Regions from separate parts of the Homo sapiens genome. Here all the other regions are linked to region 1. The links are contacts of gene promoters, found by promoter capture Hi-C in blood cells and fetal thymus (Javierre and others, 2016). All regions are on one chromosome and are shown on one strand. Each heading gives the region's core, a stretch centred on a gene start or on the middle of the fragment in contact. The rest is flanking DNA. Distances are from core to core; before and after follow the strand shown. Region 1 holds the start of LARGE1 (LARGE xylosyl- and glucuronyltransferase 1). Region 2 overlaps LARGE1 (LARGE xylosyl- and glucuronyltransferase 1). Region 3 overlaps LARGE1 (LARGE xylosyl- and glucuronyltransferase 1). Region 4 overlaps LARGE1 (LARGE xylosyl- and glucuronyltransferase 1).

Evidence for each region. Contacts are between HindIII fragments. The CHiCAGO score rates a contact against its expected background, and 5 or more counts as called.
Region 2: a contact is called between a fragment that was not itself captured here and the fragment with the promoter of LARGE1 in region 1, in 2 of 17 cell types (total B cells and naive B cells). The highest score is 7.0, in total B cells.
Region 3: a contact is called between a fragment that was not itself captured here and the fragment with the promoter of LARGE1 in region 1, in 2 of 17 cell types (naive B cells and total B cells). The highest score is 12.8, in naive B cells.
Region 4: a contact is called between a fragment that was not itself captured here and the fragment with the promoter of LARGE1 in region 1, in 1 of 17 cell types (naive B cells). The highest score is 5.4, in naive B cells.

The regions. Positions count from the first base shown.
Region 1 is chr22:33,917,249-33,924,927 of GRCh38, forward strand. LARGE1 (LARGE xylosyl- and glucuronyltransferase 1) reads right to left here and starts at 3,228. Exons shown (of 15, transcript NM_133642.5): 1 at 2,747-3,228. LARGE1-AS1 (LARGE1 antisense RNA 1) reads left to right here and starts at 3,977. Exons shown (of 2, transcript XR_001755630.2): 1 at 3,977-4,275; 2 at 5,159-5,807. RefSeq lists silencers at 2,756-2,855, 3,126-3,275, 3,596-4,095. The HindIII fragment of the contact is 4,427 bases long and covers 1,439-5,865 here.
Region 2 is chr22:33,286,794-33,294,472 of GRCh38, forward strand. The region is part of intron 12 of LARGE1 (LARGE xylosyl- and glucuronyltransferase 1); the gene reads right to left. Among named protein-coding and RNA genes, the nearest start is that of LARGE1-AS2, 130 kb to the left of the region's middle. The HindIII fragment of the contact is 194 bases long and covers 4,712-4,905 here.
Region 3 is chr22:33,304,031-33,311,709 of GRCh38, forward strand. It overlaps LARGE1 (LARGE xylosyl- and glucuronyltransferase 1), which reads right to left. Exons shown (of 15, transcript NM_133642.5): 12 at 199-477. Among named protein-coding and RNA genes, the nearest start is that of MIR4764, 130 kb to the right of the region's middle. The HindIII fragment of the contact is 2,776 bases long and covers 3,238-6,013 here.
Region 4 is chr22:33,325,722-33,333,400 of GRCh38, forward strand. All of the region lies in intron 10 of LARGE1 (LARGE xylosyl- and glucuronyltransferase 1), which reads right to left. Among named protein-coding and RNA genes, the nearest start is that of MIR4764, 110 kb to the right of the region's middle. The HindIII fragment of the contact is 6,065 bases long and covers 1,671-7,679 here.

The DNA of each region.
Region 1 (7,679 bases), core at 1,978-4,477:
TTTCCTGTCTCCCCGCTACTCCCACCTCTGGGATCAGCTTTGATAAGACTTAGCTACTTGGGTAAACCTAGGCAATGGGGCAGTCAGTGTTCTTCAGGGAAGTAGAATTATCTTCCAATTCTGCTGGAAGGGCTGTGGACATTAATGATTTCATACTATTAAAAGTGCAGACAGCGTCTGAGGTGGAAGTGCAACTACACCGTCAAATGTTATGTTAACATCTCTAAGTATACGGAATGTATTTTTAAGGGGAATTTTAAGTTTGATGGAGTCCACTGCAGAGACATTTTGAAGCCATGTGATTTTATGATGACTGCAGGGAATATGCAGTCAAAAACCAAACACCAAAAGTGTTGATTACAAACTGTTAGGGAACTTAAAGTTAGGATGGTCTAATATTCAAAGGATAGAGCCTTTTTGTAGTCCTTAAATACTTAGAGATTATAACTGAGTCTTTTCAGAATGTCACATAACATTTTGCAGTTAACTGGTTCTGAGTTGTCCAAATGACAATTTAGATGTGAGCAGGCCCATCCCTTAGGCACTCAGAATCCACTCACTAGTGCAAGCATGTACTAGATCCCAAAAAGTTCATCTCAGGAACCCTCAAGATAAACCACAGTCTCACGAACCCTCAACATAAACCACAGGCTCATGAACCCTCAAGATAAACCACAGTAACATGGGCCCTGGTGTTTTCTTCTTCGATGGTGGAAAAGATAACTAGTCCCCCCTAGTGTCCTGCTACTGTAGGTGGCTGAAGGATGGCGACACTACAGGACGCACCCTCCCTGCACTGTGCATCAACTTTAAAGCGCAGCTCAGGAACCCAGAAACAAAGGAAACCTTCGTCACAACCTTCCCAAGAGATGGAAGCACTTCCGAGACCTATGATGAGATGAAAAAAACCTTTCATTTCATTTCTAAGGCCCTTCCAGGTATGGTTTAAAAGCCAAAGGAATCTGCATTGGCTCACATCAAAAAGTTAATCCACACCCCAGCACACTTCATTAAGTGAAGCAGGAGGGCCCACACTTGTCAGCAGCTACTGCTCACTCCAGAGCAATCCGATCTTCCCGTTAAAAACCTCTCTCTCCTGCCAGGGGGATTTGATTCCTTTCCTCGCCACTCTTGAAAACCCACTAACCTCTAAATCTTGGTGATTTTTGCCTCTCTGTTCGAGTGAGTTTTCTTCCTGGTATGGAATTAACAGGGACAGGCTCGATAAATGTGTTCTCCACAAGCAATTTTCACTAAAGTACTCTTGAACAATAAAGGTACACTAAGAGATGTGTGAAATCTTAAAGCTGGCGTTTTTATTTCTTTTATTTTTACCCCTAGGGAGGACCAAGCGTGCCAGTGAGTAATTCATTCATGTCACCCATTTGTGAGGGATGGGAGAAGAAACAACCACCACTTGTTCCCTTCTTAATTTAGAAGCTTTCCTTATCTTAAGTCTATCAAAGCTGACTCCTGAGGTGGGAAGACAGGAGAAGTGAGAAGAAAAATTAACCCGAGGTGACTGCCTCCACGGAATGATAAGCACTTCAGGTCTCCACACCTGTGTCAGAGAAGAAAGGCATCTGCATGTCAGGGAGGCGGACGCCCCCACCTGCCACCCCCTCCGTTTCTCCCCTTGAAGGAAGCAGGAGCCTGATCTCCCCCCACTCCCTCCTCTCTCTCTCTCTCTGGGCACTTACATAAGACCCTGTAAAACTTCCAGTGACATTCACGAAAAATGTAAGCTGCTATTTTGCTCCCTCAGGAGATCATTTTAATGGACTGAGTGACAAAATTCACGGATTCTGAATTCAGCAGAAACCTGCTCAACCGAGGCACATCAGCACAGAGACGAAAAAAAAAAAAAAAAAGAGTCCAACCCCATTAAACAGGGTCACCCAAGGGATGGATTCAGTGTGCAAGAGACAATCTGTTCCCTCCGAAGTGACCCATTTAAAATCAGATTGTTCTGGGGGAAGCTCACAGGTTTAATAAATTTCAAACAGGCAAGGACAGGCTTGTACAACTGAGGTTCCTTAAGAGGAACATTTAAAAGAGGATAAGGCAATGAACAAAATAACTTGAGGATACACAAACTTTGGAGTCCTCACTCCAAAACTTCAAAAGCAGTGACATTTACAAGAATGTCTGGATAGCTATACACTGATCACTCCTCACAAGCAGCTTTGACTAACAGGAAGGACATGCTGGCTGGGCTTCCCCCCTACAGATAGCAATGCCAACCAACCACTCTGTCCTAAAGAGGGACTCGCAAGCTGTGGCTGCTCGCCCCCAAATTGCGCAGGACTGTCTGCAAGAAGGAACAAGAAAAGTTATTCACAGCATCACACCACGAAAGGTAGTTGCGTACCGCCCAACAGGGCCCTCTCCAAACACGGCAGGCTCCGCGAACCACAGGTGCTCACCGCTAACAAGAGGGCCGGGGGTGCGGGTATCGGTCACATGCCCTCGTGGTGTTAACCAGAAACTCCTCCTGGCTCGCTCCCTGCCAGCAGCCTGTGTGCCCAGAAGCCGAGCAGGCCCTGAGGGGGTCCTGGGGACTTCGGAGACTGGGGGCTTCCACCTCCAGCCTCTCCAGGGCTCCCGGCCGGGGCAGCAGAGGGTGTGCCCGGCCTCCCCGCCGGCATCCCGAGTACAGGGGGTACCAGCCACAGGTTCGGAGAACTTGTCCGGCGCTACACACCACGGCGCCCCCGCGGCGACTCTCGCGCTCCGGGGCTCTTACCTTGGCCGTGACTGCCGCCAGGCAGAGGGAGACACGGAAGAACAGGGTGGCGCGGCGGCGCCGCCGCCTACGAGGCGCAGGGGGTCCGGGTCAGGGTCCCGGCAGGCGCTGCCCTACTCGGAGCGGCGGTGCCAAGCACAGAGTTCGGGACTGCCCCCGGCTCCAAATGCCGCGGCGAGGGTCCGGGTCCCCCAAGCTGAGCACTGTCCCTTCTTCCTCTTCCTCCGGGGCCGCTGCCTGGAGCTGCTCCCGGCCCGGGGGACTCTTCCGAGCCAGGGGCGCCCCGCATGGGCAGGGGCCTGGGTCAGCCTCGGGTTGGGTCCAGGGAGCGACCGCCGGGGCCGACTCCACCTCCCGCGCTCCAAGCCGATTCGTCCCTTCAGGGCAGGGCCTGCCCGCGAACAGCCCGGCGAGACGAGCGCGGCCGCGCCCCCAGCTTCGGGCGCCCGGGCTCCGGCGCGGCGGCGGGGCAGGAGCAGACTGGCCGGGCCGGGCGCCGAACGCGGCGGCGCGGGGGGGGCTGCAACCGGCCGCGGCGCGCTCTCCCCCAGGGCCTGCGCCGCCCGCCCGCGGCTCCGCGGGAAAGAAGCGCCGGAAAAGGCCTCGCCCCGGCCTGGGGCGCGGGGCCGGGGGCGCGGGGCTAGGGGAGGCGCCCCGGGAAGGTCACGGGAGCGGAGGCGCGGCGAGTGGATCGCGGCGCGGTGGGTGCGGGGAGCCGAGGCGGGCGGCCCCCGCCGCCGGGAGCGCTCGCCGGCCTTGGCCGCCGCCGCCGCCTCCGAGATGCGCCGGCTTCCCGGAGCGCCCGGCGCTCGGAGCTGGGCGGCCGCTGCAGCCGCCGCGGGCAGCCGGGCGCCGCTGGCCGGAGCCGGCGCGCGATCCCCGCCTCCCGCGCCCGGCCAGGAGTGGGCCGCCGCGCGGGAACCGGCAGGGGCGGGCGCTGGGGTCCGGGCTCCGGGCTGGCCCCGCCGCCTCCGCGTGCCCAGAGCGCCGGACTCGCTCAGCAGCTGCAGTGACTGTGTGTCTGTGTCATGTCTGTGCAGCCGGGGGGGACCGCGAGCCGGGGCTGGGTTCCGAGCGGGGGCGGGGCCGGCGCCCGCGTCGGCGCCCGCCCCCGACCCCGTGACCGAGCGGCCGGCCAATGGCAAGCGCCGCAGCCGCGCGGACCGAGAGTTCGCCCCCGCACAGGCTCCGCCCCCCGGCGAGACTCCGCCCCGGTGCTTCTTCAGCTCGCTGGCTGGCAGGCAGGCGGAAGCAACACCCGGAGCCGGGATCCCGGGCCGGGTCGGGATGAAAGGGTGCAAGCTGGGAGCTCCCCGCCCTTCTTCCCCCAACCCCGGCGGCTCCCGGCCGCCTCGGGCTTGGCGTGCCTCGCGGAAAAAGGGGGAAGGGAAGCGGGACGGGCCCGCAGCTGCCGTGGTAGAGAGGCTCGCAGGCTTGCAGGACCATGCAGCCTGCTCCCCAAATTGCACAAAACAGCCGTCGTGAGAAGTAGGAAGTTTCCCCGCCTCGGGTCGCAGCTTCTCTCGGAGGTGGGCATGCTGTGGGGCAGCCGGAGTCTGTGAGGAGCCCCGCCGAAGGGCTCTGACGGCATCTTTCTGGGATCGGTATCCAAGAATCCTGTCCAAGGCTTCCTCTTCCTCTGAGGAAACTACATTTCTTTTTCCTCCACCCCAAACACACACCCCATGCACGCACAACACGCCCCTCCCCTGCTGATTTTATTCTCGCTCTTTCCCTCTTGGCATAAGAACCCGGCGCGCAACATCCCTTGAATGGACTTCCAGCCTCCCAGTTCTAGGGACCAGGGTGGGGGTACGGAGAGTCCTCCCGAGCCACAGGAGAAGTGGGTGAAATGGGTCGGGGCACAGGAGCGGGGGTGTGAGAATGGATGGAAGGAGGATGCCCTCGAGAGAAGACCCAGAGGAGGCGAAAGCAGAGAGGCAGGGAGAGAAAGAGGACGCCGAGAGCTGCACAACTCGGACTCGGAGACCGGAGCTCCGGGCGCGCGATCCAGCTCCCGGGTTTTTCCGCAGCTCGGTCCCAGGGCTTCTGGGGTCCCCTTCCCCCCGGGTCTCCACCTCTCCCCAGCCGGGCGGGCCGCCGGGTCTTTGCCTTCCCTCTGCGCGCCTCTCCGCTCTCCAGGACTCGAGCGAGGCAGCGGGAAGCCCACCCTAGTTCTTGGAAGGGGCAGGGGAAGGATGGGCTGGGGAGGGGGCGCGCGGGAAAGGGCCGCCGAGCTTGGGTTGCCCAGCTGACCCCACTCCTCGAGGTCGGGCTGGGGGGGTGGGGCGGCAAGGGCTTCGGAGGCTTGGCCCCTGCTTGGCTCCGGACCTGGCTCCCGCCTCGGTAACCACACTCTCGGCCTTTGGCTTTACCGAGCTGGGACCCTTCTCCCATCCCCCTTCCCTCCAGCCTCGTGAAACAACGACCCCCACCAGCAGCAGCAGCGCCCGCTTTGCCCCGGCTCCGGAGCGCTGTTTACCTAATCTCAGCGGCTGACCGAGCCCAGCAGAATGCGAAAGGGAGGCAGCGGTGGTACAGCAGCGTCCCCGGCGAAGAAGTAAAAGACGTTTGCTTTGGAGCTTCGGGATAAGTTAACTGCGAAGCTGGGGTCCTGCTGTCTTACCTCTGCGGCGATGAGCCTCACCGTGCACGTTGGCAGGCATAGCAGATTCTGTTTCTGATGCCATTACCGTGTCGGAGAAGAACATTATATGAAAAAATACTATCTAATATCCTAGAGACCATTAAAGTGTCAAAGTTTAATGCCAAGTCTTTTAGCTCGAAGGCTGCTCAGTTCTTCCTCTGACGTGCAGCTCTGTTCCAGAACGCGCTGAAAACAAGGGGATCATTTTTATTTTTTTGCCGCCCGAATGTCCTTCCTTCCTACTCTCTTCCTCCTCTCTCACCCCTACCCCCTCCCCGGAACCGGGTAAAGTTAAAGGGAGAATTTGTACTTTCTTTTTACGTTTTGCTTTGCTTCACTTCATTAGTGGTGTAAAATGCATTATTACAGCACATTAGCATATTAATAAAGGTAACGTGACTGAGGAAAGGAAAAGACCTGAAATTTACAAGCGAAGGAGAAATAGTTGAATAACATCAGAAACTAAAAGATAAGCTTCCGGGAAAGAAACATCTCCATTATAATGACTCAAGTGTAGTACATTCTCTAGATGGAATCTAAGAAAGAAAAATGTGACCATGGTGTGGGAGCTAGCAATGTTCACGCTGGTCAGTAAGGCACGTTGAAGACATAATGCCTTATTAGTGGATTTCACAAAGTGTACTTGCATTGGTCAATAAGCACCTTAAATGTGGAAAAGCTTTGTTTTATCAAATCAAGGTTGCAAGTGCCTGCAGTCAGTGGCATAGCTAATGCTCTAAATGATATTAATGTTGTCAGACTGAAATGTGCCACATACTGAGTCCTCTGGTTAGTACATCAAGCCCCAGGTTTAAAGTATTACGTTGGAAAATTGTAAAGCTCCTCAACTCCCCAGTCCAAGCAACTAAATATGTATATACATATACATGGAAACCCTGAAGTAGGATGTAGTTACCAGGAATTATAGCCTTTTGACACAACCAAGATACAAATGTCTTAAAAGGATTTCCGCTACGATATAGTATGAGAATGCAGAATAAAATATGTAAAGTGATATATCTGTTATTTGTAAAGAATGAGCGCAGCTTTTGCTGAGAACTGAAAAATGAAAAAAAAAAATGAGCTATCTAAACCAACTGTTATCTGTTTATCTCCACACAGTTATTGTACCTGTCACTGAAGAGATTCGGAAAGGTCTCTTATTTTTTATTAGGGTCAAGGAGACCGAATCCTAAGAAACCTGAGGTCTTAAAGCAGCCACTAGGGGGCCCTAAAGGCATCTCAAAGAGGAAGCCAGGAAACACTCTCACCTCCGTTTTTCTGTGTGCCTGATATTAGGAACTGGGGAATCTAAAGGCACGTTAAGAACACAGTGCACTGTAGTCCCAGCACTTTGGGAGGCTGAGGCGGGCGGATCACATGAAGTCAGAAGTTAGAGACCAGCCTGGCCAACATGGCGAAACCCCGACTCTACTAAAAATGGTAAAATGTTCCGGGCGTGTTGGTGGGCGCCTGTAATCCCAGCTACTCAGGAGGCTGAGGCAGGAGAATTGCTTCAACCGGGGAGGCGGAGGTTGCAGTGAGCCGAGATCGCACTCCAGCCTGGGCGACAAAAGCAAAACTCCATCTCAAAACAAACAAACAAAAACATAGTGCAAAGTTTGGAGGCAAATCTAGTTTTATGTAATAAATGACCTGAGTCCAATTTTGACTCCTAAGTCAATTTAGTTTCTCAACTCTTTTCTCACCTCCAAGAAAGGAAATATTGTATCCTTGAGAGGAGGGTTACCAAATACTCTTAACTGTCTCAAAGTCGGCACAATTATGTTTGCCATTCCAAACAGGACGTTCTTTCAAAGATTTGAGGACTGTTTTCTGAATGTTTTGCACATTCTTCAAGAGCTACATAACAAGACGATTGAATTCTCACAAAGAGGATATTTAAAAGATTAAGCAACCTGTACAGCAGGGCACCCACCTGCCAACTTAATTGAAGTCAAGCCAGCCACAGGGGCACTAGCATTAGAGCTGAGTCCTGAAGGCTTCTGCTAGGCCAGACATTTATTCTTTAGTGCTGGGTTCTGGTGAAATGGTGGTGTTGATGTTGGGAGGAAGGAGTGGTTCCTGCAGCAGGGGTGAGGAGACAGGGTATAGTGGGAATGGCAGCCAGTGGTAGTGGAGGGGTGATTACTCCAAGGGCTACTTAGCCAGTATGGAAGGATTGCAGTATCTTAATTAATGTTATATTTATCAAAACATCTAAATGTCGGGTCTGATCCTACAGAAAGCTGCCTAAAATTTTTAACTAGCAATTAAATTTTCATG
Region 2 (7,679 bases), core at 3,559-6,058, 630 kb before region 1:
TCAAGTTACTATTATCATCAGTTGCTATAGGAGCTGCTTCTTAGAGATTAATTCCTGCTAGAAAATAATTCCCCTTTCTATGGGGGCAACCTGCCCCTATACATAGAAGCAAGCTCTCAGAGCTCTCTGCCTGCCCTACCTGCACCCCTGGCAAGGGCAGGTTGTTTAGGATTAGACACTTGACCCAGGCTGAGCACATCAGTTTCTTACTCTTGGAAATTTGAATAGAAATAGAGACTGGGAAAGCACAGAATTGACTTTCAGTGATGACAGACCATGCTCTAAAGACTTCTGAACTGCTGCAGAGGGGCCCAGAGCTGCCCTGGTTAATTGCTGTCTTATGTGTTGGTTTTCCAAGTCCTAGTTTGATTCTATAAGATAACCCATCCATTATTTGCTTTGTTTTTCTTTGATTTGTTTGTATTTTACTTAAGCTACCTGGTATTAGTTTCTGTTGCCTGCAACTAAACAACCCTAACCAATATACTGGAAGACCCAAAGCAGACAGACTCAGCAAGCAGCATGCCTCACAATTACAGTCCTAGCAAGCCTTATTTCCCTCTGCATAGATAGCACCAGATTCCAGAGTGCTTTCTGCAAACTCCCTTTCATCTCACTAAAATACAAACTGCCACAAAGATGGATCTGTCACCAGATAGATCTATTTCAGAGTCAGTTCAAGTAGGTTTCAATACCGATGTCCTGAAAGGGTCTCATTATGAAGTTGTTTCAGCAATAAACAAGGCTTCATGGTACAAACTCTGAGCTCATCTGTTTATTGAGAAGGTAACAGCAGCCTGGGTCTTTCTGTTCTGTGTTCTGTTAGTACATCTTACCCTGGATGGGGCTTGCTGTCTTAGGGGTCAACAATTTGCAGCCATTAGTTCTCTGGAAAGTGAGTCCTGCAGAGGATAGAATGCAGAGTCTTCCAGGAACAGTGGGGCAGGACGATGAGTGAGAAAGCTGGGCGAACAGCCAGGAGACTTCAGTTCTAGGCCCACCCTGAGAAGCTGAGTGACTTTGGGTTACTCTATTACTCTTTAGATTGCTAAATGTAGATTATTAAGATGGAAGCTTTGGAGGACAGTCAGGTGTAGTGGTCATTAGACAAGGCGTCTAGCTCTGACTCTACTAGGCTGTCTTCTTGGGCAAGTCACTTTCACTATTTTGAGTCCTGGGGTTGATGCACTTGAAAAATATGTTGATGAGGATAAGCACAGTGCTTGTGGAAGGGCTTGCTACAAGGCCTGGCACACATTAAGCACGGGGTACATGATGCCTATGATGGTTCCCTTTCTGTATCAGATGGCCCAGGCTATGGCGCCCAGTTACTGGGTCACATACTAGTCCAGACACTGCTGTGCAAGTGTTTCATAGACGTGTTAAACTGCAATTACTTTTGCACCAACCTAATAGCTAACATGTACAATCAGTTACCTTTAAGGAAAGGAGATTTCCCTTGATAATGTGGGTGGGCCTCATCTAATCAGTTGAAGGCCTTAAGAACAAAAACTGAGTTTCCCAGAGAAGACGGAATACTGCCTTAGGACAGTAACACAGAAATCCTGCCTCAGTTTCCAGCCTGCTGGCCTGCTCTGTCAATTTCAGACTTGCCAACCCCACAACAGTGTGAGCCAATCCCTTAAGCTCTGTCAATCTATCAGTACACATATCACTATCTAGCTCTGCATATTGATACATATATTACTATCTATAGGATATACTATATACATCTCCTATTGGCTCTGTGTCTCTGGAGACCCCTGAGGACTGTGCTGGTAAGACATGCTGCTTACTGAGTCTGTCTACTGTGGGTCTTGTAATATATTGCTTAGGGTTGTTTAGCTGCAAGCAACAGAAATTAATACCAGGTACCTTACCTAAAATAAAAAGTGTCCTAATTCCGACCTGGTCCAGATTCCTCCTCATCATTCAATGATACCAAGCTCTATTGATGTCCTTCTTGGACTGCCACTCTGTTCTTGTCCCCTACATGGGCCTGAGCTGACACAGTCTCTTCCTTATGGTCTGACTCCTCTTTGCAGACCAGCTCCAGTCCCTGCCTATGCACAGGTTCAAAGTTTTGTTGCCCTTGTCTTGTCCAAGACACTTGCAAGAACATTCACAAACCTACTATAGTATATTGGATCAAGGAATTATTATTATTATTATTATTATTATTTTAGACAGAGTCTCGCTCTGTTGCCCAGGCTGGAGTGCGGTGGTGCGATCTCGGCTCACTGCAAGCTCCGCCTCCCGGGTTCACGCCATTCTCCTGCCTCAGCCTCCCAAGTAGCTGGGACTACAGGTGCCCGCCACCACACCCAGCTAATTTTTTGTATTTTTACTAGAGACAGGTTTTCACCGTGTTAGCCAGGATGGTCTCGATCTCCTGACCTCGTGATCTGCCTGCCTCAGCCTCCCAAAGTGCTGGAATTACAGGCATGAGCCACCGCGCCCAGCTGGACCAAGGAGTTCTTAAAACAATATAAATAACTCAGAACCTTGCTGATACAATGGGAAGCCCTGTGAACATAAGTGACTTGGAGCCAGACAGCAGCAGCTTCCAAACCTGACTGCTCCTCTCTCTCCTGACTTCAGGCCCATTCTGCAACCTCTCCCAACCACAGGTTCCCCATCTTAAATGGAGATAATAAAGGCTTATCTCTCATCTCTCAGGGCTCTAGAGCCCAAAGCAGTGCCTGACTTAGAATTAACTCATTAACAAACAAGTCCCCTTCCCCTGTCACAGCTGAGCCTACTGGTGCATCCAAGGCAAGAGAATGGGCGAGAGTGAAGGAGGATTCAGAGAAGTCAACATACTACTTACAACCAGGGAAGACTTCTGCTTGCTCATCTACAGAAACAGAACTTATGAGATCTCGGTCTCTAGCCAGCCCTCTGAGTCCCTCTTTGTAACAAAAACAATTCAGGTGTTGCTCACAGAGTAAATTCACCTTTTCCAGCGTGGCAGAGCTAACCAGTGGGGAAACTGTGAATTTGATAAAGGTTATCCTCCAAAGCCCCCCACAGCCTCCTCTTCTGTATATCTTTTTTCCCCGAGCCCCTCCTCTCAGCTCACTCAGGTATATGGGTAGTTCGTATCCTCTTTTGCTCCAATCTGGCAAAACTGGCGAGCAGGGGAGGGGATGTGAGTGTGAGTGAGCAGTGAGGCTTCCTATGCCAAATGAAGGGGTAGGGGTGGGTGCAGATGGTAGGCTTGCCCGGGTTCTGCATAAACCAAAGAAACAGCATGGATGGAAGGGCAGAGTATTAGCTGGATGGGTTTCCCTGGTGCTACGGTGGCATGGAATTACCAATCCTCAACCTGACCCTGGCTGTTGATCTCTTTCACATACATACACACCTCCCTCCCTCCATCTCATTCTCTCTTTTTAACTCCATCCTTTCCTCTAGAGGCAGGTCCCTGTAACCAGGGAAACAGCCCAGGTTCCTGGCATGAAGAGATTACGGGAAAGTGTCTCGGAAGACATAAGGAAACGCCGTGCACTGCCTAGTTCTGACAACTTCACCTCCTCGGAGTCACAGTGGTTCACATTCTAGAGGCAGGCTGCTCGGGTCTGCATCCTGGCTAACTACTTAATTAATCTCTTGGTTCTGCAATTTCCGTATCTGTAACATGGAATATCTATAAAATGGGAGTCAGGTAGAACGAGAAGAGGAGCCAGCAATGGGAACTCCTGGGAGGGACCAAGAAGATTGAAGAACCACAAAGAGACTGCGATGAGCACCTAAAAGCCAGGAGAAAATAAAACGTGTGCCATGGAGGAGTCACCGGCAGTTGGAGGTGGCTGAGAAGTCAAATGAGATGAGAGCTGGGGGCTGGCAGCTGGGTTTGGCAACATGGAGGTCGCTGGTGGCATCTTCCCTGACTGCTAGCATCTAGGGCACCAGTCAAGTAGGTGGGTGTGAGGGCCATGGCCATTTAGAAGTTCCCTTCCCAGCTAGGCGCGGTGGCTCACGCCTGTAATCCCAGCACTTTGGGAGGCTGAGGCGGGTGGATCACCTGAGGTCAGGAGTTCGAGACCAGCCTGACCAACATGGTGAAACCCTGTCTCTACTAAAAATACAAAAATTAGCTGGGTGTGGTGGTGCGTGTCTATAATCCCAGCTACTGAGGAGGCTGAGGCAGGAGAATCGTTTGAACCTGGGAGGCAGAGGGTGCAGTGAGCTGAGATTGCACCACTGCACTCCAGCCTGGGCAACAGAGCGAGACTCCATCTCAAAAAAAAAAAAAGAAGTTCCCTTCCTCACCTCTGGTTCTGCAAAAATAAGTCAACACAGTGCAAGGCTGGATTGCTAATCAGGAAAAGGATCCATGTCACAACGCTGGCCAATTTAGTTTCATCTTAAGTGTCTAGAAAAATTAACCTATGTTGGTCCACAGGAGAGGATATAAGGAAAACTCTACGACCAACACCTAACTCCTTCACAGTGAGTGAAGACCCGGGAGAAGAGACCCTTGTGGTCCAATCAGACCCATCCTGGAGTCCCACAATGGTCACGATTTGCCTGAAAATGGGATTCCAGTTACTTGCCAGTTTCCACCAAAGGAAGAACTCCCTAAATCCTGTCTGTCTACCCTTATGCATTCTCCTCTATTCAGCATTCCCTGAAATAACTTCCTCCTCTCTCACTGGTGCGTGCTTAGGTATTGTGCTATGGTGTCCCCCAACATTCATGTGTTGGAAGCTTAATTCCCAATGCAGCAGCAGAGGTGGGGCCTTATGGGAGGTGTTTAGGTCATGAGGGCCCCACCCTCATGAATACATTAATGCATAATGTATTCATTACATTAATACATTTAATACATAATGTATTACATCAATACATACATAATGTATTACATCAATACATTTAATACATAATGATTAAAAAAAAAAAAGCTTGACAAGAGAGAGTTTGGTCCCATTTTTTTTGCCTTTCCACCTTCTTCCACGTGAGAACATGGCGTTCCTCCCCTCTGCAGGATGCAGTGTTCAAAGAACCATCTTGGGGCCGGGCGTGGTGGCTCACACCTATAATCCCAGCACTTTGGGAGGCCGAGGTTGGGGGATAACCTAAGGTCAGGGGTTAGACACCAGCTTGGCCAACATAGTGAAACCCCGTCTCTATTAAAAATACAAAAAATTAGCCAGGCATGGTGGCACACACCTATAATCTCAGCTACGCAGGAGGCTGATGCAGGAGAATCGCTTGAACCAGGGAGGCGGAGGTTGCAATGAGCCGAGATCGTGCCACTGTACTCCAGTCTGGGTGACAGAGTGAGACTCTGTCTCAAAACAAAAACAAACACAAACAAACAAAACCCACAAAGAACCATCTTGGCAGCAGAGAGCAGCCCTCCCAGACAACGAATCTGCCACCAAGTTTGTTCTGACTTCCAAGCCTCTAGAACCATGGGGAATACATTTCTAAAAAATTACCCAGTCTCCAGTATTCTGTTATAGCACCACAAAACGAACTAGGACATATTACAAACCCAATTTGATGCCATCTTCAAGAAAACAAAATTAGAAAAATAATCCATCACTGAGGTTAAGAAAAGGAGAGAGCACAGTCAAATTTAAACAGGGACAAAGGATTCTGGAAGTATCTCTTTTTTGTGTCTTTCTATACTGGGGGGTTTGGGGGGCAACCTCAAGCAGCTGCAGGGCCAGGCCAGTGATGTGGATAATGGTGCAGGCTGATGGGGAGAGAGCACGATGTTCAATGGCAAAGGATGCCAGGCTTACATGTCGAGGAGACAAAAGGGAGAGGGGAGAGCAGGGGATGGGATAAACAGGAGAGTCCACGCCTAGCTGCTCCTCAATTCCAGCTGTGTGCCTGACATATGGGATTGGAGCCACAGAGTCTGATATTTCAAGAGGAGCCAACTGAAATTATCTTCAGCACACCTGATGGCTGGGTACCTCTCGTGGCATGCCAGTTTGAAGGGAGGCTGAACAGTGAGAAAAAAAGAGCATGATCTTTTTAATCGGATGATGTAGATTCCATCTTAATTCCACTACTTCCCTAACTGTGCAATCATGGGCCATTTTCTTAACACCCCGGGCTTTTGTTTCCTTATCTTGATAATAATAAATGCTTTATGGACTTGGTGATTAAGAGAACTAAGATAATATATTCATCAATTAATGAATATTAATGAAGCCAACACCTAAACCTTGGGCACAGAGCTAAATGAACACATATAACTTTGTCCATGCATAGCTCACAGTGTAGGGAGGGAGGAAGACAGAAGCATACTCCTCTCTGTGTGCAGAGTCATGGAAGACTTCTCATCACTGAGATGTGTTCCAATCAAGAAGCAGGAGTTAGCCAGTCAGGAAAGGGTGTTCCAGGTTATTTGCAAAGCTCTGATAACGAGAAAGCATATAGGATTGGAGAAACTGAATTTCTCAGCACCTGCCTGGTATACTGTAGGTGGTTGATAAATTATAATAAATGCTTACATGCATTGAGTTTCAAGCCCCATGCTAAGTGCTTTATATGCATTACTTCTCTTAATTATTGCAACCTATGACTTACATACTCATATTTTCAGTTTAATGATAAAGATATTAAAGTTCTGAGAGGTTAACAAGTAACTACCACACAGCTAGTAGTTATCATCATCATCATATAATGATATTAATGAAGTCTGCACCAGCTTAAAATTAAGCAGGAAAGATCAATAACCACAAGATGTATTGGGACCAAGTCTGTTAATGCAGTGATTGTGTCTGTCTTCCCAACCTTGCAACTGGAAAAATGAACTTCTTTGAGTTCATGGGTCAAGGCAGTAGTGGGAGAGTGGTTAGGAATGGCAAAAAGGGAGAAGGCAGGAGGCTACGATCTGTGTACCTATGCTCCTTAAATGCAATCTCATCCACATGGCAGATTCCACCTTGAATGAGCAAAGTGGAGCGGAGGTCAGAAAACAAAGAGTATTATGAGATTGGGAACATGTGTACTGATCCTACATGTCACTGGCTTATACTGAGCCTCCTATACTGGCTATTTCCTTTCATTACCACCCATGAGTCTCTCAAACTATTATAATCTGTCTTTGACTCTGTGGATCTGGCCAAAGTCAGCAATGTCCCCTCACTGTCAAGTCTAACAGATTTATCCATTCTCACCTTGTTTGAATTATCTCTGCATTTAGCACTAATGACCACTCCTACTAGCCTTATTTCAAGAAGCCCATCCCATAATTCTGAAGGCATCTTTCTACTCTCTCTTTTCTCACCAGGATGACTGACTTTCAGCCCACTGGATGCTGGTAACCATTTGGGACCTCTTGTGGCCCCTACTCCTCGGGCAGGGGTTGGGGAATTCCCCATCTCTGCCACTCAGGTTTCCACGCCTGTAACAGAAATGCCCGTGCTGACTTCTTTGCGGTGTTGCAATAAATGGCTGAGGCCAATGCTGACAAGTGACAAACTATTGGGAATCGCAGGGCTGAAGGCACTGGGGCTGCTGTCAGAATGCTGGGAGAGAACCAGACTTGTCAGCTCTCGGAGCCCTGGGTTTCCACAGCCCTGTTCTGCAGCATCAAATGTCAGAGAGCCCACTGTTTAATCAAACCTGAGTCGTAAGAAATCCATGTGGTTCTCATACAAGTTCCCAGGGACTCCTATGAAAGTTATATTAAAAGGGGACAGGAGGAGATA
Region 3 (7,679 bases), core at 3,376-5,875, 610 kb before region 1:
TCAGGTTTCAGTCTGTTCACTGAGAACTCTATTGCTGGGTGGCTGTGGGCAGGTCCCTTCCCCTTTCTGGGTCTCTGCTGCCCCATCTGGAAAAGAAACCTGTTGGACTAGATGATGACCCTAAGGGCCTTTTGGTCCTGGCACTGCATGGCCCTATGTGCCTTCTGGCCTGATGGCCAGGCCCCTGCAGGTCCTTACCTGAGGTACTCATAGAGCCCATACATGGGCAGGAAGTCAATGTCAGACAGGAACATGTAGGGAGTGCTGATGTGCTTCATGGCCACGTTGCGCAGCAGGTTCACGGGGTAGAACTGGCCCTCCTTGTACACGATGTGGTAGCCCACGTTGTGGCGGCTCATAAGCACCTCAGAGCCCTGTGCGTAGCGGAGGAACTGCTGGGCCTCGGCGTCTGACAGGTAGAGGGCCAGGCTGATGGGCCCCTCCCAGTGCTTGCAGATGGCCTCCAGCATCTGGAGCCTGGAAGAGACAGGGAGGGTGAGCCGCGGGACCTGGGCCATCCATGCATCATCCGCCGGGCCTGTTGTGGGGCTCTGCCTCCAGTGACACTTGATCAACCAGCTGTGGATCAAATCCCTGCTTTCAACGTTGACTCACTCAGTTCCTTTACCTATAAAACAGGCATCAAAACACTTACCTTGCTGGTTCTCATCTTTCCCTGCTTCCAACTGAACATGTGATATGAAGTTGTATCCCACTATAAGCCTTGGACTCCTCGTTTCAAAGCCAGGTGGTGAGTATATTAAATGATTTGAAGATCCCCTTCCAGCCCCAAAGTCCTACACTTCTCTCTCCACAAAGGTATAAAAAAGCTCTGCTGATCTCCTAAGGCAGTGACCAGCCAGAGAGGACTTACACAAACTTAGAGGCTGCTAAGTTACAAGGAACGGTAAAATAAACAGTAAACACAAGAGCTACAACAACTATAATTACAGATGTGCTGCAGTGTGCCAGGAGCTTCCCAGAATTCTCTCAATAACCTTGAGCACTAGCTGTCATTCTCCCCATTTTCCTGATGGAGGAACGGACGTGCCGTATGTTCAATCAGCTTGGCCTCTTACACTTAGAGGCCAGACATGTGTAGACAGGTACCCTGATGGGACCTTGGAGTCAGGGAGAAAAAAATAACACTAAAAAAGGGAATAGAAAAATATGTGAATGTTGGAAACAAAAGTCTACCTGGGGTGATGCTGTCTGCATCACTCGTCTTCAGAGCCCCTACTACCCCAGGGCGCCAGGCAACTGTGCAAGGCTACCTCAGAGATGCTGAGCCAGGGAGAGGGGGAAAAATAGAGCCCAGGGAAAAAATTAAAAAAAAAAAAAAAAAAGGTGTGTGTGGAGGGTTTGCAACAGAGAGGGTTCTGCAAAGACGTCTGAAGATAAATCTATAAAGATATTTTCTTTCAAAGGCGTTAGAAGCGTCTGGTACATAAAATCTATGGCTAAGAAACAGCAAAAGCCTACTTGAATTGTTTTTCCTTACCCAGCAAGAGGTACGTAATCAGCAGTCTCCTGGTCAGAATGCCCACTTTATTCGGACGATTACCAGGAAATCGATTCCATGCATTTCCATGCTTCTAAACAAAAGGAAATGGGCACACCTATCTTGTTTCAATGGCCTTTTTGATGACTTCCAGAGTTTTCTCTCAGTAATTCTGTTAAGTGGCACTGCCCAGATTTGCTTCCTCGTTCAATAGGGAGGATTAAGATATTCACCAGTGCAAAATGCTCTCCATTTCTCATCCATTATAATGCTTGCTAACCAAATTGACCAGAAACATTTCTTTTTCTTTTTCTTTTTTTTTTTTTTGAGGCGGAGTCTTGCTCTGTTGCCCAGGATGGTGCAGTGGCGTGATCTCAGCTCACTGCAAGCTCCGCCTCCCGGGTTCACGCCATTCTCCTGCCTCAGCCTCCCGAGTAGCTGGGATTACAGCCGCCCGCTACCACGCCCGGCTAATTTTCTTCTTTGTATTTTTTAGTACAGACGGGGTTTCACCATCTTAGCCAGCATGGTCTCGATCTCCTGACCTCGTGATCCGCCCACCTCGGCCTCCCAAAGTGCTGGGCTTACAGGCGTGAGCCACCGCGCCTGGCCGACCAGAGCCATTTCTTAAAAAGGCATGCATTCTCCATGACGCCTAATTGCACTGAACTTTGTACTAGACTTCTGCTGTGGGGGCCTGCCCTCTCCTGGGCTCTGATCTGGAATTTTGAATTATGCCTCCTGCACCTGTTTTACCTTCTGCAAATGTGGGGGACTCTGCGCTTCATGAGAGGGCCATTTGTACAACTCCTCTGAGAATTGGAGAGCAAAACGCAAGAATAATTTCTAGCATGTAGACATGAGACCTGCTGAAGGAAGTGGGCGGAAGGAGGGAGGTTTGGCTGGGCATGAAGAGAGGACCACTTCTCAGGATTCTCTCACTGGCTTGGTTTTTGCCTCTGTGTCTCAGTTTTCCAAGAAAGGAACCCCTCCCCTGCCCCGTGACCTGCCACAGTCCCTCTCCTAAGCTCAGCCAAGAGTTTAGGGTAAGAACAGAGAGGCCAGGAGCGGTGGCTCATGCCTGTAATCCCAGCACTTTGGGAGGCCAAGGCGGGCAGATCATCGAGGTCAGGAATTCAAGACCAGCCTGACTGACATGGTGAAACCCCATCTCTACTAAAAATACAAAAATATTAGCCAGGCGTGGTAGTGAACGCCTGTAGTCCCAGCTACTTGTGAGGCTGACACAGAAGAATCGCTTGAACCCAGGGGGTGGAGGTTGCAGTGAGCTGAGATCGCACCATTGCACTCCAGAGTGAGAATCTGTCTCAAAAAAAAAAAAAAAAAGAATAGAGAAAAAATACTCAAGGTTCTCAGAAGGTGCTGTGCACATGAAAAATAAGTTGAGCTTTACAGATAACACAGCTGGATGTTGTTCTGTGGAACCTCCACAAGCGAGACAGAATGGTGACACAACGCACTGCTGTTTCTATGCCCTCCAGCCCCAATCTCTCCAATCTTTAGTCCCTTAGAACCAACTTTTCTGCCAGGACCTGAACAACTGTGACAAACTGAGGTTTCTAATAATGATGGTAATATTTAAAGTGTGATCATGATCTCATCCATCTCCCCCTTTACCTGCTGCTTGTCATGTCTTTGCCACACTGTGGCTATCATATTTAATCCTCATAGTAACTATAATATTGAGATTGTCACCACCCTCTTACAGGCAAGGAAGCTTAAGGGGGTGAAATAACTTCTTTCAAGTCACGCAGTTACAAAGTGAAGGACATAGATTCACATTCGGGTCTACCTCACCCCAAAGCCCGGATCCAGGTCATTATTTACTATGGATTGGGGTTAGGCTGAGAACAATGTTCCCAAATATCTTTGCTTCATTGTCTGTTTCCCCAAGTAAGAGCGTGTTCTTCTCCCGGTGTCAATGCCTCCCCACTCTTTCCCCTCCTCAGTCCCTCTTGGTATCTGTCTCAAAGTTCCACAATCCCCTCGGCCCTCTCCTCAGGTTCTATTTCTGCCTCTCAAACATGTCTTCACCTAATACATATTTGTTATTTCCAATGCATCGGATATACTATACAGATAAGGGGCCTGGGCACCGGCATTTCAGGAGCTTTTATTCTAGTGGGGAAAAAAGACAATCAACAAACCAGAGTTTGATTAGGGAGGTGATCAGGTCATGAAGGTGGAACTCTCATGAATGAGATTGGTGCCCTTTTTCTTTTCTTTTTTTTTTTTGAGACAGAGTCTCACTCTGTTGCCCAGGCTGGAGGCAGTGGTGCGATCTCGGCTCACTGCAACCTCTACCTCCTAGGTTCTCTCCCCTCATGTGTTCCCTAAGGGTCGTCCCCGTGCAGTTCTTGCTGATGCCAAGCTCTGTGGCCAGGCTTTCTTTTGCTGGATGAGTCCATGGAAGAGCTGACCCTAAACCCAGAAGGCCTGTCTCTGTCCCATGTTGGTTCCCACTACCCCATCGAGCCCACCACTGCTTCATCTAGGGAGGGGTGGGCAAAGGCTCAGAAATGTCTGGCAGATCTAAAAACAGGTGGGGGCTATTCCAGAGAGTCCCATTAAAGCTGGAAGCCTCACGCAGTCTCTGTAGTCATAAAGGAACAGGTAGGGAGACGGCCAGGTCAGAAACCCAGAAGACCAGGGCTGGAAGGAATTCTAGAGTCTCAGTGGGACTAAGCAGCCCAGGCAGTGATCACTCAGTGTCTGCTGGGATGGGGAACTCACACCCACCAAGGCGGACCATTCTAATCTGGTGCACTGCCCATGAGGCAGGCTGTGTAGCATATCACACAGCTTGCAACTGTAGGTTTTGGGGTCAGACAGGCCTGGATTTGTCCTCTGAGCTATGTCAGTATTCCTGGGCAAGTGACAGCTCTTTGAGCTTCAATTTGCACATATGTATTTTGGGGATAATAATGCCTTTGGTAGATTACAAAATAGCTATCAATCGTCCCTTTGCCTCTATCCATACCCTCTGGAAATAATCTCCCACATGAATCCTGGCCACATGACTTGCTTTGGTCCATGCGATATTAGCAAACATGACATGAGAAGAGGTGAGACAACCGGCTTGTACCTGCCGCCATGTGAACTAGCCCTACACCACCTTGCCCTGGCGTTCCCATGGTCCCTGCTGATAGCCAGACAAACCCCCGAAAAGCTACCTAGTTTACGGCAGACACAGGAATGAGCCCAGCAGAGTCTAGCCCACACTGCCAATCCAAAGAATCACAAGCTCATTCCAGTTCTTGTACTAAGCTGCTAAGACTCAGGGCAGTTTGTGAAACAGTAACATTTACTTGGATTTGAGGGTTAAATGAGATGATGATACAAAGTGTCTGGTGCAAAGCTAGATATACAGCAGGTACTCAGTATATGACAGCTGTAATTTCCTCCTTAGGTTCTATTTCTGCCTCTCAAACATGTCTTCACCTAATAAATATTTGTTATTTCCAATGCATCTGGTATACTATACAGGCAAGGGGCCTAGGCGCCTGCATTTCAGGAGCTTTTATTCTAGTGGGGAAAAAAGACAATCGACAAACCAGAGGTTTGATTGGGGGGTGATTAGGTCATGAGGGTGGAACTCTCTTGAATGAGATTCGTGCCTTTTTTTTTTTTTTGAGACTGAGTCTCACTCTGTTGCCCAGGCTGGAGTGCAGTGGTGCGATCTCAGCTCACTGCAACCTCCACCTCCCAGGTTCAAGCGATTTTCCTGTCTCAGCCTTCTGAGTAGCTGGGATTACAGGTGTGCACCACCACAGCTGGCTAAGTTTTCTATTTTTAGTAGAGATGGGATTTCGCCATGTTGGCCAGGCTGGTCTGGAGCTCCTGACCTCAGGTGATTTGACTGCCTTGGCCTCCCAAAGTACTGGGATTACAGGTATGAGCCACCACACCTAGCCTTCATGCCCTTTTAAGAGGCCCAGGGAGCTAGCTGGCTCCTTCCACCACGTGAGGACACAGTAATGAGGCACTCTCTGTGAGCCAGGAAGTGCCCCCTCGCCAGACACCAAATCGACCGAAGCCTTGATCTTGGACTTCCAGCCTCCAGCACTGTGATAAATACATTTCCATTGTTCATATATCAAATAATTTGTGGCATTTTGTTACAGCAGATAATGAGAAGGATCTGGCGTTGTGAAAAGTCTGGGGGGAAAGCTCTCCAAGAAGAGGGGATGGCCCTTGGGGTAACAATGGGCTCAGCATGTTCGAGCAGGAAGAAACAGGACCAGTGTGGGTGCAGCACAGGACGGTGAGGGGCAGGGGTGAGATGAAGGTGTCAGGGGTTGCACAGATGCCAGGCTGGATGGGCCTTGAAGACCACAGCAGGCGGGTGGGACACTGTTCCACATGTAACAAGAAGTCATCTGAGGGTTTTAATGATGTGACCTGATTTACATTTTTAAAACATCGCTCTGCCTGTTACATGGAGAAAAAATTACCTTTCACTCTCCAGAACGGTCAGTGCTTTCAAATGTAAGCTTCTTAAAGATCACCTGCGGGGCTTCTTAAGACCCCTATTTCCAGGCACCACCCGAGATTCTGGTTCAGGAGGTCTGGGGTGGGGCCTGAGAATCTGTATTTCTGACAAGCTCCCATGCAATGCTGTGTTGCTGGTTCCAGGAGCAGGCTTGAAGCAACGCTGTTCTAGAGAGTAGGGCTCTGTGAGCCCAGCCCATTCTCTCTCCTTTACTCAGAGAGAGCAGAGAAGTGACCTGTCATCCCCATGAGGCCCCGCAACTGTAGTCAACACTTAACATCTTTGTCAAAAACACACTAAAGAACCAGGCTCTCCCTGGTGTGGTGTCAGAAGATAGGTGAACCCCTCGTGATCAGCTCCCTCTGTCCCTTTGCCATTGGTGTCTTCTGCTGGGATGGGAGGGAAGGGTGCTGAGCTGCTGAAGGAGAAGCAGAACTCCTGGCTTCATGGCCATGGTTGCAACGTTCATTCTTTCTGAACGGAATTCCAGAGGGAGCTGCGTACGGGAGTGCGAAGGCCGGCTCTCCTAATTCGTTGTGGCATTCACGTAGGGCCTACTTCTGACTCGAAGGTTTACAAATATATCTGAAAGGTTTCTTAAATTAAAAATCAATCCAACAGGCACCAGTCCGCGTGCTGCATCATAATCGGATGTGTTGACAGAGTGGAAGTGGCTGCAGGAATTTCTACCATTCTTCATAAGCCTGCAGTGCCGCTTTATAATTTTTAATTGTGGCCCGTTAAGTGCCTCTCATTAGGGCTTGGCATCCCTTGGGTTCTCTTGAGATACTGTCCTGATGGTGATACATGTCACAATACAGGAGTGGGTATCGTGTGTCTGCTACGCTTGGGCTGTCCATGCTTTGAAGGGAAGACCGCTATGGTTGGTGTTTGCTGTATATGTGAGTGGGGCCCGGACTTTTTTTTTTTTTTTGAGACCGAGTCTCGCTTTGTTGCCCAGGCTGGAGTGCAGTGGCACGATCTCAGCTCACTGCAAGCTCCGCCTCCCGGGTTCACACCATTCTTCTGCCTCAGCCTCCCGTGTAGCTGGGACTACAGGCGCCCGCCACCATGCCAGGCTAATTTTTTGTATTTTTAGTAGAGATGGGGTTTCACTGTGTTAGCCAGGATGGTCTCCATCTCCTGACCTTGTGATCTGCCTGCCTCAGCCTCCCAAAGTGCTGGGATTACAGGCGTGAGCCACCGCGCCCGGCCCCGGACTTTCTTTTAAATGCACTGTGTCTGCAGCCCAGGCCAGAAGGATGGATCCCACTGGCAATAGAAGGAGGCACTTGGTTTTGTCTGTATTCTCTTCTTGCTAACTAGTGTATACAGAAGGATGGGTTTGAGCTGTTAATAACTAGAAACATGTTTGTTCTACTTGTTTGCAAATTCCAGATAGCAAATTCTATAGCCAGCAGAGAGGTGAGAAACATTAAGAAAAGGGAAATTAATATTTTCTCACATCAACTACTTACTAGGCACTTTACACCTTATTTTGTAGAACCCAGACAATAATCAGTGAATCTGACGTTATCACCATCTCGTAGATGAGTCAAGTGAGGCTCAAAAAGGCTAAGTAAGTCGTTCAAACTTACACAGCTAGGAAGTGGCACAAGTGTACTTTGAATCCAAGTCTTGCTTTTTTTTCTTTTCTACTACATC
Region 4 (7,679 bases), core at 3,453-5,952, 590 kb before region 1:
CTTCTGATGTCTTGGGGCAATGGGTGAAATCACTGATGGGGAAATTACCACTCAAGCATGTTGCTTTGCACTTTCAACTTGCTTTCACTTTTTGGTGGCTTCGTATCCACTATTTCATTTTTACTCCTCCCCAGCGCTTGCATGAGACAGGCAAGGCTGCCCTTAGGGCCCTCAGTTGACAGATGAGGGCCCAAGGTGCTCAGAGAAGCTGGGGCTCCAACTCTGGTCTCCTGAAACCTAACCCAGAGCTTGTCCCTGTGGTTTCCACAAAGCAGTTACATCTTATTAAGCCACACAGACAGGCAGAAAAAGCTCACGACCTTCCTCGTTGCCTGCTGTGTGTATTAATCAACAAGTTCCAGGAACCCAAAGCATTTTTTTACTAAGGAAACCAAACTATGAGTCCATTTTCATTCTTTTGCAGGGAGGTAGGGGGCTGCATTCAGGACTGTTGAGTGAAGGTTCAGAGAGGGTCTGCCCAGCCCTGACCTCGACTTGGAGGAGATAAGAAAAAGGCTTGGTCTCCTCCCTCCCAGTTATCAGTATTAATTCACGCATCACATACAATTCATAGGCTCTTATTTTATGCCAAGTCTTGTGCTAGGAATGGGGAATGAGCTCCTGCTTCTGCACTTGTATTATTCCTATGGTCTAGGAGGAGAGGCAATGAAGCCAGTCACTAATTACAAACACAGTGCAATCACAACACAAACCTTAATTCTGGGGGGCCTTTGCCATCTGCCACATTGTTCTAAGCTCCTGGCCCTGTCTTACTTTATTGATTCCTCTTAAGTCTATCAGATAGGAATAACTAATTTCCATCGTACAGATGAGAAAACTGAGGTGCAGGGAGTTTAAGCAGATCACCAGGAATCCCACAGCTGGCAGTCCAGCTGGGATTTCACATGAGGCAGCCTCATTCCAGAGCTGCCTTCTTATCTACTGCACAAGTAAGAGATGCCACTTGAGAAAGGGAGATATGGTGGAAAGGAGAGGAAGGGAGGGAGCTGCTTTATAGACAAGGGAGGGCCGAACACCTGGCAAGTGCAGAGAGATGACAACCAGTGCCTAGAGGGGTCAAACAGGGCTCTGTGTAAGTTGCAGCTGAACAGGATCAAAGCAGCCAGGCCACAAGGGGAAACCGTGGCCCAGACTTGTATCCACTGAGTCTCTTGATCCCACAGCTCCTCTTCCCTTCACCCCCTCTCTCTGGAGCTTAACACATTCCTGGAGGGTCCTTTGGAGACTGGCCTTGAGCAGCCTAGCCTGTCTTAGGGTTTTGGGTCTGTCCATCCTGGGCTCTGCTGCCTGCTGCGTGACTGAAGAGTTGGCGACATGCGGCTCGCACGTGAGAGCAGGAATGCATTCTGGGCTTTCTCCGGGATTCTTCTGAGATACAGCTGTTTCCACAGAGCCATCTGTTTCTTGGCATTGTCTTGCAGGGTGATGCCATACAATGTTATAGAATCTGTTTATATGTGTCTTATTTTTAACTTCTAGTTGAGGTGATGCTGTTGTTTTTTCCTCTTAGCAGGCTTAGTGTCAGGGAACGTGGCCTTGGAAGTGGCCTGTCACCTTCATAGCGTGAGAGAGTTAAGCTTGGAAGCCTTCTTCATTTCAGAGGTGAGGCAGTGATCTCCCAGCAGTTGAGAGAGCGGGTATCCAAGACAAGCTTTCTGGAAAATACTCGTAACAATAACTGCCTAGATGGTGCAGCACTTTGAATACTTTAACCCCTTTAACTTTCCTCAAATAGCCTGGTGTGGGTGCATTTACTGACCATTTTACAGATGGGAAAACCGAGGTTCATGTAAGGCTAGAGTTATGCCTAAAATCATAGATCTGGTCTAGGGCCACGGGGTCTTGCTCTGTCGCTCAGGCTAGAGTGTGGTGGTGCCGTCTCGATTCACTGCAGCCTCGACCTCCCAGGCTCAAGTGATCCTCCCACCACAACCTCCTGAGTAGCTAGGACCACAGGCATGTGTGGTTTGCTTATTTTTCACAGAGACGAGGTCTCACTATGGTGCCTGGGTTGGTCTAGAACTCCTGGGGCTCAAGTGATCTTCCTGCCTCAGCCTCTCAAAGTGCTGGGATTACAGGTATGAGCCACTATTCCCAGCTTGGGCCAAATTTTCTGAGTCCAAGTGGAGGGATGCTTCTGGCACACCACAAATGCTTCAAGAAAAGGACTTGTTATAGTTCATTTGTTCAACAAGATTTATTGAGCATGGATCTGGTGCCAGGCACTCTTTAATGAAGATGTACTGATGAATAAAACAGATAAAAAGCCCCGTAGTCACAGAGCTTACATTCTAGTGGGTAGAGACATGATCAACAAAAATAAATAAGTCATGATTATATTAGTGATAAGTACTATGGAGAAAAATGAAGGAGCCCTGGAGAGAGGGAGTGCTGGGGTATGGGACAGGCATTGCAATTTTAGATAGAGGAGTATTTTAAATAGTCGTAGAGAGACCACTCAACTATGAATCAGGGCTTGATACCGGCTTCAGCCCTGCCACCAACGTGTTCTATGAATTCACCTCTCTGAGCTTCTATTTCCTTCTGTATAAAATGGAGATAACAGCAGTGGCTCGCGCCTGTAATCCCAGCACTTTGGGAGGCTGAGGTGGGTGGATCACGAGGTCAGGAGTTCAAGACCAGCCTGACCAAGATGGTGAAACCCCAGCTCTATTAAAAATACAAAAATTAGCCTGGCATGGTGGCAGGTGCCTGTAATCCCAGCTACTCGAGAGGCTGAGGCAGAGAATTGCTTGAACCCGGGAGGCGGAGGTTGCAGTGAGCCGACATTGTGCCACTGCACTCTAGCCTGGGTGACAGAGCGAGACTCTCTCTCAAAATAATAATAATAATAATAATAATAATAAAATAAAACAAATAAATAATAAAAAAGGAGATAACAGGAACTACCTTGAAGGGTTAGTGAAAGAGTAAGAAAACCGTATCCATATAACAACTAGGAGAATTGTGGAATAACCTGGATATATGTAATAATGTAACTTACTATTACATTAATATGACATACATAGCTACATCCATTTGGGAAGCACTTCCTTGTCTTGTGGCTTTAGAGTTAGGTAGACCTGGTTTCTAATCACGGCCCCAGCACTTAGGAGTTGTGTGGTCTTGAACAAGTAAATCATTTCTTTGAAGCCTTCCTTTCCTTATCTGTGAAATGTGACTCATAATGACTCCCACTCTTTGTGGTGAAGATTAAAGTTGTATTTCCCTTTCTCTTTCTTTCCCTGTAGAAAATTTCCAATTCCCAAAAGCTAGAGGCAAGCAGAGAAAGGTCTTAGAACAGCACAAAGAGCTGTGCTCATGCAGGAGAGACCAGAATGACTAATACCTATCGTAGGGATACCCAGCAGGCTTTGGTTCCCTGCTATCACTAGGAGGCTAGGAGACCAATACTGATTACTCAGAGTGCTGTTTTGAGGAGGATAAAGAAGCTGGGCATAGGTGAATAATGCAGTCATCAATTAGTGATGTCTGCTGTGGGCAGGGGTTGGAGACACTGGCTGTTGACTTACAATTCCATATACATTCAAAAATTCATTGGTGTCCAGTGTATTTTTTTTTTGTAGTTTGTGGATGTTTGGTATGTTTCATAATCTAGCTTTTAACATAACAACAGATCATTCTTTTACCATCAGTCTTTCTAAATTAAATACCTTTGTGGGTTTTTTTTTTGTGGGGGGAAGGGGGCGTTGGCTGCCTTGGAAAGAAGGAACAAGGAGGCGAGCCCAGAAAGGGTTGTTCTGAAGCTGATAAGCAGAAAGTGACAGCTGTCAGAAAGGAATCCACAGAATAAGCAGTGAACAGTCTGGGGCCATTTCCTGCCAGGTTAAACAGTATCTTTCCTCCTCTGGACAACCCCCTCCACCTCCTCCAGCCTTTTCAATGTAACCACAGTCATCAAATATTGTAAACTTAGTTTAATACTAAACTGAGTTTAGTGTTTGCTTACTAAAGGAACGGCATACACTTTAGCAGCAAGTTTCCTGTCCAAATTGGTTAAAACCCATCTATTTTAATGGTTTTTGCATTTAAAAAGATGAGGTTCCTTTAGTTGGAAATTCCCTTAGGTGGAGCAAGACCCTCTTGATGATAAAGCATCACCCTACAAATACAATACTTAGGGAGCATTGCATGTTTCTAAATAGCAAACTGAATGGAAACTTTCTATGCTATCTTCTGGGCTGTCAGGTACTAGGGAGGTGGAAGGATCCTTATTTCCTTATGTTTCATTAAAAAAACAGAACAACAAAAAAAAACCCAACAAAACCTAGACTCCAGAGGACAGGGCTCAGATCAGTGGGTTCTTTACAGAAGGGAATATTTCAGCCCAACATGAGGTAGAACAATTTAGCATCTGGAGCTTTCCAATAGCAGAGTAAGCTGCCTTGGAAGGTGGCTCTCTGTCTTTGGGAGAATTTCAGCAGAAGCCAGATGCAAGCCTATTAGGGATACTGTGGAAGGATTCTGAATAGAAAAAACGGTAGAGAATAGCTCTGATTATCCAACTATGTTCTGGAAGAGTCCTGGGGTTTCTTGGATATTCTTTTATAAATTTAATTTAATTTAATTTAATTTTAGGGACTGGGTTTTACTCCATCACACAGGCTGGAGTATAGCGGATCGATCATAGCTCACTTCAACCTTAAACTTCTGGGCTCAAACAATCCTTGTGCCTCTGCCTCCAAAAGTGCAAGGATTATAGGCATGAGCTACCGCACCCTGCCATTTCTTGGATATTCTTGAGGGGCTGGGTTGTTGAGGAAAAGGGAGAGAAATGCTAAGGTATAGAATTCTAACCTCCATCCCTATGTCAATCAATCAACTCATAATAACCAATGCATACCAAATGCTTACTGCACTACATAAAGAATTTACAAGTTCCAGGGAGAGATGCCCAAACTATGAGAGACAAGTGGCTGTGACCAATTAGCTACTGTCATTCCATAGCACTGGGGGAGCCTGTTCTCTTGCAAATCAAACTGTCTTGTCCTAGAGCAAGCAGCCCAACCAGTGGCTCTGAAATGGCGCTCTGCCCCTCACATCTTGGCTCCTTGATGAAGAATTACATCCCTGACTGGATGTCCTTATTTTTATTTTGGCAGCAAGGCAAACCAAATAGCCTCTTCTTCCTACCCTGAATTTCCGAATCAGTGGGGATACTGGGGATTGTTTGACTTAGAGCAAATGTGACACCCTCTCACATGCTTTACAGACAGATTTCTCAGAGACTCTACAGGTTCCCTTCTCTGCTACGTCTTTTTACCAGAGTTGCTAATAAAACCTAAAGCCTATGTGTGGAACAGTGGATTATGATCACATGGGTCAGGCATTGGGGTCTGTGAAGAAACTCATCCCAAGGCACACTGTGTTCCTGGTGCCAAGTCCTTCTTTTTTGGCCTTCAATTGTTCATAAAACCCCATGGCAATGGTGTCATGTACCCATTTCTCAGATGGTAAACCCAAGGCTCAGAGCATTTAGGTGACTTCTCTGAGGTCATGTGTCTATTAAATGAGCGATTCAGATTACCAGAGAGCTCATACTCTTGTTGTCATTATCAATTTCCCAGTGAAAAAGTTAAAATAATGCAAAAATTAACTTGTGCAGCTCTTTCTTTTCTTTCTTTCTCTCTCTCTTTCTCTTCTTATCTTTTTTTTTTTTTTTTGACGGAGTCTTGCTCTTGTTGCCCAGGCTGGAGTGCAATGGCATGATTTCGGCTCACTGCATCCTCTGCCTCCCAGGTTCAAGCGATTCTCCTGTCTCAGCCTCCCGAGTACCTGGGATTACAGACATGTGCCACCATGCCCAGCTACTTTTTGTACTTTTAGTAGAGACGGGGTTTCGCCATGTTAGCCAGGCTGGTCTTGAACTCCTGACCTCAGGTGATCTGCCCGCCTCGGCCTCCCAAAGTGCTGGGATTACCGGCGTGAGCCACCGCACCTGGCCTGTGCAGCCATTTTTATAGTTCTCACACTGACTTCATTTGACTCTCAACTCCCAGCAGGTCCTCGAGTGATCATGCTTGTGTTGGCTCCTGGTCTCCAGTGCTCATGTTGCTCCCTCCCACCCACCAAGTTTACCCTTCAGACTCCTTCACTCCTACTTATTCAACCTTTAAATCTCACCTCCTCCAGGAAGTCTTCCTCGATGCACCTTCTCTCCCTAGTTGTGTAAAATGCCCTTCCCGTGTGCTCTCAAAGCACTACCACTATTTTGGCACTAACCGCACTACTTAATAATCCTCTGCTTGTCTGTAACCCTCACTCAACAGTGACTGCAAGAGCCGAGCTTTAATCTGCAATGCTGCCTGCTAGAACACTAGCCCTGTGTCTGGCGACTACCTGAATTATCAGCTGGGTGGATGATATGGTTTGGCTGTGTCCCCACCCAAATCTCATCTTGAATTGTAGCTCCCATAATTGCTACATGTTGTGGGAGGGACACAGTGGGAGTTAACTGAATCATGGGGGCAGGTTCCCCCTATACTGGTCTCATGATAGTGAATAAGTCTCATGAGATCTGATGGTTTTATAAGGGGAAACCCCTTTCACTTGGTTCTCATTCTCTCTCTTGCCTGCCACTGTGTAAGACGTCCCTTGCTCTTCCGCCATGATTGTGAGGCCTCCCCAGCCATGTGGAACTGTGAGTCAATTAAACCTCTTTCCTTTATAAATTACCCAGTCTCAGGTATGTCTTTATCAGCAGCGTGAAAATGGACTAATACAGTGGATGAAAGGAGTCTTAAGTCACTTAGACACTGCCATCAGAGCCTGCTCCCATCTAGGATCTCAAGTCCAAAGAAGAGGTTCCTGACTTGGTTTCTTTCAGACTCACCACCATCTGTGCACTTATCACAGCTCTAATGACCTCTTCCCACAGAGCTGGGAGCATAGGCTTTGGGCTGGATCCAAGATCATACCCTTTCCCTCTGGTTGTGTCTGCAGATAACACTTGACGCGCTGCGGAAGACCAGGTGGTAAACTCCCTACAGAGCTGTGGTTCAGGAGTGCAATGTTTACAGACTCTCTCTTTGCCCCAGCTCCAGCCCCAGCCCCAGCCCCAGCCAGCAGAGGAACAGGGCTGGAGCAGTGTACAGGAACCTGCTTGTCTTGACTTATGAGTGCTAGCTGCACCTACTCTCATGTTCTTAGTACCCACAAAACAATCCATCTGCTCTCTCCATTCCCACCGCAACTGTCCTAGAGATCAGAGCCCCATCCATCATGTTTTTGCCTGGGATGGGGCAATGTCCTTTTTTTTTTTTGGACGGAGTCTCACTCTGTCACCCAGGCTGGAGTGCAGTGGCGTGATCTCGGCTCACTGCAAGCTCTGCCTCCCGGGTTCATGCCATTCTCCTGCCTCAGCCTCCTGAGTAGCTGGGACTACAGGCGCCCACTACAGGCGCCCACCACCAAGCTCGGCTATTTTTTTGTATTTTTAGAGAGACAGGGTTTCACCGTGTTAGCCAGGATGGTCTCGATCTCCTGACCTCATGATCCGCCCACCTCAGCCTCCCAAAATGCTGGGATTACAGGCGTGAGCCACTGTGCTGGGCCGGGGCAATGTCCTTTAAGTGGTCCCTCCAGTTTTGTCTTTTTCATTTCATCCTCTACCTTGAGTGATTTTTCTCTAATATAAA